Regions from separate parts of the Homo sapiens genome. Here region 1 is linked to region 2. Evidence: promoter capture Hi-C in human tissues and cell types (Jung and others, 2019). All regions are on one chromosome and are shown on one strand. The core of a region is centred on a gene start or on the middle of the fragment in contact, and the rest is flanking DNA. Distances in the headings are between cores, read along the strand shown. Region 1 has its middle 5.5 kb from the start of SP7. Region 2 holds the start of ESPL1 (extra spindle pole bodies like 1, separase).

Evidence for each region. The method cuts DNA at HindIII sites, captures the fragments that hold promoters and counts their contacts. A contact is called where the count stands out against the background at its distance.
Region 1: a fragment that was not itself captured here is called in contact with the fragment with the promoter of ESPL1 in region 2 in 10 of the 25 tissues and cell types used here (IMR-90 fibroblasts, aorta, bladder and 7 more).

Annotation. Positions count from the first base shown.
Region 1 is chr12:53,340,515-53,343,214 of GRCh38, forward strand. It overlaps a transcript of SP7 not described here. Among named protein-coding and RNA genes, the nearest start is that of SP7, 5.5 kb to the left of the region's middle. The HindIII fragment of the contact is 4,818 bases long and covers 1-2,700 here.
Region 2 is chr12:53,267,024-53,269,723 of GRCh38, forward strand. It overlaps ESPL1 (extra spindle pole bodies like 1, separase), which reads left to right and starts at 1,276. Exons shown (of 31, transcript NM_012291.5): 1 at 1,276-1,354; 2 at 1,732-1,824; 3 at 2,001-2,700. The coding sequence starts at 1,744. RefSeq lists enhancers at 1,213-1,582, 1,643-1,722. The HindIII fragment of the contact is 10,197 bases long and covers 1-2,461 here.

The DNA.
Region 1 (2,700 bases), core at 142-2,641, 74 kb after region 2:
CTCCCTGGTCCTGGGGAACCCCAGCATCCCTACCCCCACCCAGGCCCCCGCTGCTCTGCGGCCCCGCTGACTCATCTCTCCCTCTGTGGAGCTCCCCAACCACAGGGGCCTGGAAGAGAAGCTTGGAAAGTTGCGCTCATGTCCCGGGCCCCTGGTCTGGCCACTACCCGCCCATGCACCCAGCCCAGCCCTTGTCTCCAGTGGATACTCCAGCGACAGAGAACATAGAGGGGACAGGAAAGAAGAAGGCACGCAGAGACAGGGAAACAGAAAGACACAGGAGAGACAAAGAGGAAACAACAAATGGTGGGCATACAGATGAGAGACCCTGAGGATCAGCTACTAGTCTGTTGGGTCCTCTAAGAGCAATGGGGCTGATGACCAGGAAAGCTTGCTCCTTGGGTTGAAGGAACATCCATTCATGGCCTCAGGATTTAGAGACTGCCGAGTGCCTTGACCCAGCATTTCTGACACTAGGCTCAGGGTACTTGGGGAAGAGGATCCAATTTTAGGAGGCAAAGCTGAGGACACAGGGTAGAAAGGAAGCTTTTAAGAGGCTGGCAACCTTTGTATAGGACAGCTTGGAAAAGGAGTTCCTCACCCCAACAAATATGTACACAAATTTACAGGTACAGACAGACTACAACTTCCCTCCCTCTCTGCTAGGTCTCCCCATCCCCTCTTCCAGCACCAGGGCTGCAAGGCAGGACCTCTGGGACTGACTCTGGCTCCCCTCTTCCCTGAGCCTTGGGTTCCTTCATTGACATTGAGCCCTGATATAATTCAGCAGCTTTAGGAGAGGCAGATCAGAATCAGAAACAGAAGTGCCATGGAAGGAGCAGGAAGGAATCTGGATGGCAGGGGACAAAGTGAAAAATGAAAGGAAGAGGAAGACTGGGGTCTGATTCTGAAACAAGGGGACCTGTCCTGGATGCCCGTGTCTAAAATGGGACAACATTGAATTAAGTAAGAACCTGGTCATCTCTAGAAAATGACCCTTTGTAAAAACGATACCCTAGAATCTGATCCATGAAATATACTAGTGTCTTTCATAAGAAGAAGTTGGGGTGATGGAGTTCTGATCACATCATCCCTAGGAGTGAGGCTGAGCAACTCAAGGGAATGGTCCTTCAAAATCCTAAATACAGGCCTGGTGAGGTGGCTCACACCTGTAATCCCAGCACTTTGGGAGGCCGAGGTGGGTGGATCACCTGAGGTCAGAAGTTTGAGACTAGCGTGGCCAACATGGCAAAACCCTGTCTCAGGCTGGCCGAGGTGGCTCATGCCTGTAATCCCAGCACTTTGAGAGGCTGAGGAGGGCGGATCACGAGGTCAGGAGATCGAGACCATCCTGGCTAACATGGTGAAACCCTGTCTCTACTAAAAATACAAAAAATTAGCCGGGCGTGGTGGCGGGCGCCTGTAGTCCCAGCTACTTGGTAGGCTGAGGCAGAAGAATGGCGTGACCGGGAGGTGGAGCTTGCAGTGAGCCGAGATCGCGCCACTGCACCCCAGCCTGGGCGACAGAGCGAGACTCCGTCTCAAAAAAAAAAACAAAAAACAAACAAACAAACCCTGTCTCTACTAAAAATACAAAAATTAGCTGGGTGTGGTGGCGCGTGCCTGTAATCCCAGCTACTCTGGAGGCTGAGGTAGGAGAATCACTTGAACCCAGAAGGCAGAGATTGCAGTGAGCCGAGATTGTGCCACTGCACTCCAGCCTGGAAGACAAGCGAGACTCCATTTAAAAAAAAAAAAATTCCTAAATACACACGTCTCCCCGCTTTCTCTGGCCTGCTGCATTCTTCCTCGGAGCCCAGATTTTTGAAATGTGGAATGAACTTAAAGAACATTCTTTCATTCAACAAATGTTCAGAAAGCACCTACTTTGTGCTAAGCACACTGGGCTAGACTTAGGCATGCAATAACAAGCAAGACAGACTCATCCCTTCACCTCACAAACTAACCAGCAACTAATACAAAAGAGTAGGAAGTATCTCGATAGAATAAGTACTGGAGGGCCAGGCGTGGTGGCTCACGCCTGTAATTCCAACACTGTAGGAGGCCAAGGTGGGTAGATCATAAGGTCAGGAGTTCGAGACTAGCCTGGCCAAGATGGTGAAACCCCATCTCTACTAAAAATACAAAAAAATTAGCCAGATGTGGTGGCAGATGCCTGTAATCCCAGCTACTTGGGAGGCTGAGGCAGAGAATTGCTTGAACCTGGGAGGCGGGGGTTGCAGTGAGCCAAGATTGTGCCACTGCATCCCAGCCTAGGTGACACAGAGAGACTCCGTCTCAAAAAATAAATAAATAAATAAATAATAAATAATAAAAATAAAATAAAATAAAAAATAAGTACTGGATGTTATAGGAGACAAAAGAGTAAATCTAAGCCAGTGTTGGGGGGGAATTAAGGAAGGCTTCCTGGAAGACAGCATGACTAAGTAAAGAAACTGAAGGACAAATAAGAGTTATCAAGTAAAAAAAGGAAGAGTGGTGCCAGTGCAGTGGCTCATGCCTGTAATCCCAGCACTTTGGGAGGCTGAGGTGGGTGGATCACTTGAGTCTAGGAGTTTGAGACCAGCCTGGGCAACATGACGAAACCCCATCTCTACAAAAAATACAAAAAAAAAAAAACATAGTCTGGGTGACAGAATGAGACCTTGTCTAAAAGAAAAAAAAAAGGAAGAGTGTTGT
Region 2 (2,700 bases), core at 26-2,525:
ATTACAGGCGTGAGCCACCGCGCCCGGCCTTTTTTTTGGTTTTCTTTTTTGAGACAGAGTCTTGCTCTGTCACCCAGACTGCAGTACAGTGGCGGGATCTCAGCTCACTGCAACCTCCGCTTCCCGGGTTCAAGCGATCCTCCCAAGTAGCTGGGACTACAGGCCCCCGATGCCACAGCAGCTAATTTTTGTATTTTTAGTAGAGATGGGGTTTCACCATGTTGGTCAGGCTGGTTCTCAAGTGATCCACCCACCTCGGCCTCCTAAAGTGCTGGGATTATAGGCGTGAGCCACCGCGCCCGGCCTTCTTTTCTTTCTTTTTACAAAAATAATCTTCCCTGCTAGATTCTCAACTCATAAAAGAGCTCTATGATGATGGAGAAGGATGAGTTATCCAGTAGAGTTCATCAGCGACAAGCTGATAACCACTTTTGAGCTGAATTCTTTGGTGGAGGAAGGAAAGAGACAGCTGAATCTGTGTTTGGGGAAGTGGTTAGTACTTAAAAACATAAGCCATTAAAGACTGTGAAATATCCCAGGGAATGAATTTCCATAGTTCTTCCTGCTACTCACAACTCCCACCCCACCCCACTACCCTCTCTCCCCCATCGAAGAGCACCAGATCTTGTCTTTCTCATACAACCAATAGAAGGAGTAAGGCTGGAAGGCAGAGAGAGAGCTGGAGGTCGCTACGGGTACTCATTGTAGTTCCCCTAGAAAACCATCTTTAAAATAATTTCGTAGGAAGTTGGGCGTGGCGGTGCACGCCCGTAGTCAGCACTTTGGGAGGCTGAGGTGGGAGGATCACTTAAGCCCGGGAGTTTGAAGCTGCAGTGAGCTGTGATCACGCCACTGCACTCCAGCCTGTGTGTCAGAGCAAGACCCTATCAAAAAAAAAATTCGTAGAAGTCTAAGCCCTTTTTTTCTAGTAACCCAAACCGCGTGAGTTCCTAAGTTCTTTTTGTTATTTCTCTTCTCTTGAAACTTAAACTCTTGCCTGAGCTCTGAAGATAAAGGAGGAAAAGGGGTGGCATTACCGATAGCGACTAAGCGACAGGTAGCTGAGAAACTGAGCTCTGACTGGAAAAAAGGGGGAAACCCGCACCCCCAAGAGGCCCTAACGCGCAGAGCAGCAAGACCCTCCGGGGCGCCGCGGGAGCGCGCAGCGCGGCGGGTAAACTACAACTCCCAGCGTGCCGCGCGCCCGGCGTTGCGCCGCGCCCGCTGATTGGCAGCCGCGGATATTTGAAAGGAGGGTCTGGCGCGGAAAACGAAGGTTACATTTTGGATCCTCGCGGAGTACTGGTCAGGCGGTTAAGTCCTGTACCTAGGAAAGAGGGCGAGCTCTGGGGCGGTAAGGCCGGAAGGGACTCGTGAGCGTGGGTACGTGCTGAAGTGAAGGGGATCCCCAGCGCTGACGCGAGGAGAGGCGTGGGTGGCTCCTGGAGGGAGTGTCGGGAGGCCTTGGGACTGCCCCGGGCCGCTGAAGGGCTGGGCCGAGGCCTCTGGGGTAGCGCGGCGAGTGGTGTGGTAGTGCGGTCGGGGATCTGCCCGGAGGAAGGAAGAGCGGAATCGTCCTTTTATAACGGGAGCACGGCGTCCTGGCGTGGGTTTTCTCCCCGATGAAATTTCTGATGTGATTCTTTGCCTCCTTCCACGACCTTCAGCCCTCTTCCCTTCCTCCAGTTAGCTTCATTAACAATCTTCTCTAATTGGTCTCCTTTTCCCTAGCTCTCCGGTGTCATGAGGAGCTTCAAAAGAGTCAACTTTGGGACTCTGCTAAGCAGCCAGAAGGAGGCTGAAGAGTTGCTGCCCGCCTTGAAGGTGGGGGTGCTGCCTGGCTCGGGATACACCTGGCTTTCCAAACTGAGCTGTTTTGTGTTTGCCTTTTGAAGAGATGGATAAGTAGGCGACCCTCTCTGAGTAACCCTATTTCTAGTTACTTTCTCTACCTCTTTCCTGCCTTTGCTAGCCCCATTCATATCTTTCTCTACTCCTAGGAGTTCCTGTCCAACCCTCCAGCTGGTTTTCCCAGCAGCCGATCTGATGCTGAGAGGAGACAAGCTTGTGATGCCATCCTGAGGGCTTGCAACCAGCAGCTGACTGCTAAGCTAGCTTGCCCTAGGCATCTGGGGAGCCTGCTGGAGCTGGCAGAGCTGGCCTGTGATGGCTACTTAGTGTCTACCCCACAGCGTCCTCCCCTCTACCTGGAACGAATTCTCTTTGTCTTACTGCGGAATGCTGCTGCACAAGGAAGCCCAGAGGCCACACTCCGCCTTGCTCAGCCCCTCCATGCCTGCTTGGTGCAGTGCTCTCGCGAGGCTGCTCCCCAGGACTATGAGGCCGTGGCTCGGGGCAGCTTTTCTCTGCTTTGGAAGGGGGCAGAAGCCCTGTTGGAACGGCGAGCTGCATTTGCAGCTCGGCTGAAGGCCTTGAGCTTCCTAGTACTCTTGGAGGATGAAAGTACCCCTTGTGAGGTTCCTCACTTTGCTTCTCCAACAGCCTGTCGAGCGGTAGCTGCCCATCAGCTATTTGATGCCAGTGGCCATGGTCTAAATGAAGCAGATGCTGATTTCCTAGATGACCTGCTCTCCAGGCACGTGATCAGAGCCTTGGTGGGTGAGAGAGGGAGCTCTTCTGGGCTTCTTTCTCCCCAGAGGGCCCTCTGCCTCTTGGAGCTCACCTTGGAACACTGCCGTC